Linked DNA regions of Homo sapiens: region 1 is linked to region 2. Evidence: promoter capture Hi-C in 16 types of primary human blood cells and fetal thymus (Javierre and others, 2016). All regions are on one chromosome and are shown on one strand. The core of a region is centred on a gene start or on the middle of the fragment in contact, and the rest is flanking DNA. Distances in the headings are between cores, read along the strand shown. Region 1 overlaps NRCAM (neuronal cell adhesion molecule). Region 2 holds the start of NRCAM (neuronal cell adhesion molecule).

Evidence for each region. The method cuts DNA at HindIII sites, captures the fragments that hold promoters and counts their contacts. A CHiCAGO score of 5 or more calls a contact.
Region 1: a contact is called between a fragment that was not itself captured here and the fragment with the promoter of NRCAM in region 2, in 1 of 17 cell types (endothelial precursors). The highest score is 5.6, in endothelial precursors.

The regions. Positions count from the first base shown.
Region 1 is chr7:108,236,493-108,239,614 of GRCh38, forward strand. It overlaps NRCAM (neuronal cell adhesion molecule), which reads right to left. Exons shown (of 33, transcript NM_001037132.4): 5 at 1,260-1,277. Among named protein-coding and RNA genes, the nearest start is that of LAMB4, 110 kb to the left of the region's middle. The HindIII fragment of the contact is 1,517 bases long and covers 1,007-2,523 here.
Region 2 is chr7:108,454,989-108,457,688 of GRCh38, forward strand. NRCAM (neuronal cell adhesion molecule) reads right to left here and starts at 1,448. Exons shown (of 33, transcript NM_001037132.4): 1 at 1,255-1,448. The HindIII fragment of the contact is 7,436 bases long and covers 1-2,700 here.

The DNA.
Region 1 (3,122 bases), core at 515-3,014, 220 kb before region 2:
TTAAGCACTAGTCTGTTTCTTACTAGCTGTGAGATTTCAAGCCAATTTCTTAACTTCTATAAGTCCTAGTTTCCTGAGAGGGAAAATAAAGTTTAAAAGTAGTATTACCACCTAGGATAGCTAGCAGGATTAAGAAAATAATTACTATAAAATTCTCAGTGTATACCAATGTTATAATGGTTCAATAACATCAGCTATTTTAAAATTATTATCATAATCATTTTTTATTTGGACCAGATTCACCTCTGAATGATCCTTCAGGCTCTGGGAGTATATAGAATTTGGGATAATGGAAGGAAGCCTGGAATTCCACATCCAAGGAATAGTGGCCATAGGGAGTGGGGGAGGGGATTCTTAGGAGTGACTCAGTTCAATTCCTTGTGCTTTTCTGGGAGTGACACAGGTGCAAATCTGGTGGCTTCAGAGGCAGAGCTTCTATTCACAGGTCTGCAGCAGAGCTGGCTCAGATGTCACTCCTAACTGCCAGGAGTTTACTGTCTGGATATACCTCCTTAAACAGTGCTTGGGTCACCTGCTAATTAACAAATGCTTTTCAGTAGTAAGAAAAACAGTGATTTTACATAATTTTCCTGGTTAATCTAACATCAAAGGAAATTATCAAATGCCTGAAAACTGACTATTTTTAAACTAGGTGATAAATGCCACCTGTCAAAGGCAGTGGAAAGTTTTGCTCAGAGCAAGCCATTCAAATACCATGTGAGTGGGAGCTGCTTATCTTTTGTCCACTTCAAGACAAGATTCAAATTCGCTGGGTTAGTCTACTGATGGCACCTAGAAATACTAGTCTACATAGTCACGAAGGCTGAAGAAGCATAAAAGGACATACAGCTGCCATCTTGTGTAAAGCTTTTGCCTGCACCCACCTTCTAAAAGACACAAAAAGACCTATCTTTGTTCCAGAAAGCATTAATTAGCCTTTACAACAGATCAGCATTCTCTCTAAATTTTGAGAATTTTCTCATTGAGTTACATCAGATGTGAATAAAGCTTGGAAGTTAGTAGAGCAGCACACTGGTAAAAGAAAGAGTAATAGCCAAGTTTTCAGAATTCATGCAGATAATACTTTACAACTGCTTCTTGGTATTGAAATACAATGTTTAGCTACAGTAAACACACATGCTTAGAAAGACAAAGGTCACAAAACATGAAATTGTGCATTTAAATCACAATATTAATTCAAAAAGCAAAGACATGGTCACATTTTCACACTGCCTAGTAATTTATAGAAGGACACTTACAGTCTTCAAGAAGTTTTGCTTTTTCCCCATCAATATCAGCAGGTAAGTGGGCAAAGAGGATTAAAGAAAATCAGATGTTAATAATAAGAACGTTAGAACTCTGAAGATAAAGGGGGCATCTTGTCTATTTGATTTGATCTAAGAAAACCTGTATAGTGAAGGTTGAATTTGTGAAGTTGCAAGACGAAGAAATTTGCATTAACGGTTTCCTTTAATCTTGCAGCAGCTTTCCCACATAAACATATGGAAGAACAAAAGCAATGCTGTAGGCAAACGAGTTCTTCCAGGAATAGGAATAGCGAATTCCATTCCATATATGTTGTGTTGGACAAGTAATTATGTTCAATTTGAAAAACAGCTGAAATCTACAATTAATTTGAGTTGTCACATACTGTGTAGTGTCTGGTCATATTATCCCAGACATCACTGTGCATATGGTAATAATACCTAACAATGGGACATTGCTACAGTGATAATGCTCCATGCAAGCCAAGTCCAACACTAATTTTAGATTTTTATATTTCTATGGTTAATCTCCAAAGTCATTAATTGAACTTTTTAGACTGTTAGCAGATTTCTGCTTCATAATTTCTCAATCACTCAGGGGTTGCTGGTGCCCACACCAAGGACTTGTTCATGTAGTAGAGAAACGATGTAAGAAATAGGGGCAGGGAAGAAATTACATTAGCATGCAATTCAAATCATTCCACAGTGCTGTCTGTCGTTACTACTTGCAAAGGTTAATATAGGAGCACCTGGGTTTTTCTGTGACTTTCTTTTCATCATGGTTATGCCTCTTCTCCGTTAGCAGTGATAATTGAGTTAGCCATAGGTGACTGTTTCCCTCTGCTTGACAGATTGAACAGTCAGATTAAGGGGGAATATATTTAATATAAGAGAGAACAAAAGCATTTCTCTCAAATGTTTTCTTTCCCTCCTGTGTATCTGTCAGGGCAAATGCTTACTTAGGCATTCCCACTCCAATGGGCTTAAGCAATTGTATATTTTTTTGAAAATTGAAATTAAGGTCACTGGATGAATTTTTTTTAAATAAGAAAAGCACTGCATTTTATTGAACTTTATAGAAGCACAGCAAAAAGTCAACAAAGTGTGGGACAAACCACATCTCTTCTTAATGTCTTCCCACTGGCAGTTGCAACCTCTATGGTAATAATAAATAATAATAATAATAATAAATAAATAAAAATGACATCCCAACAATTGAATAGCCCCAGGAAAGTGCTATCTTCCTTGCACCTTGGAAAGCTTGCCAAACAGATATTCTATTCAGGAAGCTAATGGCTTCAAAGAGGTCATGCAGATGAGGGATAAAGGAGAAATCGATTCTGAAGTACAGTAATTGTCCAGATTTGAAATTTTGCTTTCCATTTGCAGGAAAAGTGACTGGGTGGAACCTAGCATTATCTTTATTTTTCACAAACAGGCCACCCAGAGCAGGGAGAGCACAGTATATATTTACTACTAGGAAAATGGAGGGCTAATACAGTAGCTGTTGTTTGCTCCATTTTAGTGCTTTGCATATTACTTGTATTTTTAGCAGTTGCATTTTGGCATTTGACCACACTGTTTAAACCAAATAAGACTATTTGTTAGGCTCTAGATAAGATACTTTTCCTAGTTCTAGACTTATATTTAGGATTCAAAATTGGAAAGTGAGATGCGCCTTGTCTGAATCAAGAGAAATGAATTCTGGGGTGGTTTAGGGATTCCGAGGGGCATGGAGTTGGCAGAAGGAGCCTCCCCTCATCTTTGCAGACCACCCTCAGCATATGACGGGAAAGAGTAAAGTGGTGAAGGGATGAGTGGGGAGGTCTCCATGATCATTTTAAAGTGGCTCATATA
Region 2 (2,700 bases), core at 198-2,697:
CCCTCCCTCGGTGCCCGCGGCGCAGGGGCCACCCGCCAGCGTACGGGGGACGAAGATGTGGCCGCGGGCGCGGGCGGGAGGGGAGGCGATCCGGGGAAGGAAGCGGCCTGTTCGCCAGCCCCGGGGCCCGGGGAGCCCTCCAGCAGCGCTTGCGGCCCTGAGGACACCGCTTTGGGAGAAATGACGACTCCCTTGCTCACCCTACTGCGACACCCCGTCCCCCTCCGCACTCTAGCAGATGCGGGCCGGGAGTAGCTGAGCTGGCCAACCGCCTGGGACCAGGATGCGGCAGCGCCCACCCGCGCGGCGTGGAGGGGGCCGGGGGCGGCGCTCGGCGCAGATGGCGCTCGCTGCGAGATGGATGCTCCAGGGCGGGTAATCACTCCTGGCTCAACACAGCATCCCGGGCGGAGCGGATGCCAGATCCCACCGCTAAGAGCCTGGGCTGGGAAAGCAATCTTTCCAGGCAGCCCCCAGCCCGGTGCGCCGGCCCCGACAAGTCCCAGCCCTCGGAGGCAGGGCGGGGCGCAGGGACTCCCGGGACCCGCACCTGTAAGGCCGACAAAGCCCCCGCAAGCGCCCCACCCCTCTGTCCTCCGTGTCTCTCTCGTTCCGCCTCGATTCCCCGAGCCCTCTCCAGGCAGCGACTGGAGAAGCGAAGTCGGCCTCGCCCCCGAACTCCGTGGTCAGCACAGGTGTACGCACTTCCGAACAAAGCCCACGCCCAGACGTGTCCGCAGGGGCCCGAACAGGCACACGCCCGTGCGCTCCCGGCCCGGCCCCCGCGCTCCTCGCCCCGCCGGCACTGTGGCGTGACGCCCCGCGCCTCCGTGTCCAAGCCCGGGAAGCCGCCGTGCCGGGCCCGCAGGCTCTCCATGCCCAACTGCCCACGAGCAAGAGCTCTGGGCAGGGCTTCCCGGAAAGCGTGGGGTGCGGGCGCGGAGCAGAAGTTGGCCACAGGCTGGAGGGGGTGGTGGGTGCCGGCGCTGCTGGATTTCAGCTGTGCCTTCACCCAAGCGCAGGTCCCCCTGCTCCCTCTCGGCGCCCGCGGGAGTGTCGGGGGCCTGCAGGGGAGAAGGGAGTTGGAGATCTGCTTTGCCCCTCCTGCAGCGCTGCCAGCCCGGTGAGCGCTCGGCTGAACCCCGCGGCGGTGTCCAAGTGACAACGCAGCAGCCTCGCGCGTCCTCCTCCGCTCCAGCCGTCACCCCCGAGCAGGACCCAGTGTCACCGCCAGACGCGCAAGGAGCTACTTACGTTCTCGCGCCGCGCCCTCCGCTCAGCTCTGGCGCGACTGCCCAGGACCCTGGACCGCCGGTGTCCTCCGTTCTCGACGAAGCTATCCCCTCTGGCTGCTCCAGCCAGGCGGCCCCTGCGCCGTCCCCCGCGCCCGCGCGTCTGAGGCTCGGACTGCGGCGCGCGTCCGCCAGCGACCCTGGCGAAGCGAGGCTGGCCCCGCGCCGGCGCGCGCCCCCGCCGCTCCCGCCCTCTCCGCTCCCCCTCCCCGCGCCGTGCTTTTGCCCCTCCCGGCTCTCCTTAGCGTCCTCCCGTCCCCCTCCCCCGCACTCCCTGCGGGCGTCCTCCGCCTCCTCCCCTCCTGGCCAACCCCCTCTTGCCCTGCTGCTGCGACGGCAGCGAATGGGCTCCAGCCGCCGGCGCCTCGAGGGACTGGGTGGCCCCTCACCTGAGCGGCCGCCCCACCGCCAACCTCCGTCAGCCTGCGAGCGCGTGTGGCGGCGGGGGTGGGGGTGCGGGGACGGAGGGCGGGAGTGTTCCGGGGCTAGGATGGCTGGGATTTAGCTACAAAAGATGTTCCAGAAAATGGGTAGTTTTTGAATGCCACTCTCATGGGTTTAGCTTTCTGTGGGAGGTCTGTGGTCTTCTAGTTTTTTCTTTTTTAAAAAGCACTTTCTTCGAAATTCATCAGTTGGGGTGGTTGAGATTGGGTGAGTGGTTTTGGGGGTTTTGTTTTGTTTTTGCAACCGTTCTTTCCAAACACTCCCCGCCGCCCCCCACCACCGCAGAAAAAAGAGCTTTTAGCATAAGGCGGATGCTATCTATCCGCGGTAGAAACTGGGTCTTCTGGTCCCAAGGAATAGGGTTAGTTCGGATTTGCTTATTTACAAATGGGGGAGTATTATGGAGATTTTTTTTTTTTTTTTTTGGCAATGTAAATCGAGAATTAAGATTTTCCAACTGTATAGTATTTGAGTAAACACACTGCTTGCTGCATAGTTCAGGCTCCGAAGCGCACGTCTCCACTCTATCGTGGATGGTGTTCAGGATCCTTAGCCTGACCCTTGGGTCCTCCGTAATCTACTCCGGTCTGCACACAAATTACTTGTCTGCTGGGTATCACCCGACTTGACCACTTACAGCAGGCTCCAGCGCTTAGTGAGCTCAGCGGAGCCTTGATTCCTTCAGTTCTCTAATTCAGGAAAACATTTTCTGAGCTCCTCACCACCCCACCCCACCTCACCACCTCCTCCACCCCCAGCCTCCAAGGTGCTGGGGCAAGATTCAGGAATGAAAAAGAAACAGGTTCATCCTTCAAGGTCTTGACTACCCCAGTGGTCTGTTCTAACTTCAATTTGAACTTGCCCCGTCAGCTCACAGCATCTGCATGCAAGTGAGCAGCCTTCTTTTCCTTCTCCTTCTACTGCCATCCTCTCCTCCTTCTCCAGCCAAATGTGCTCTGGCCTC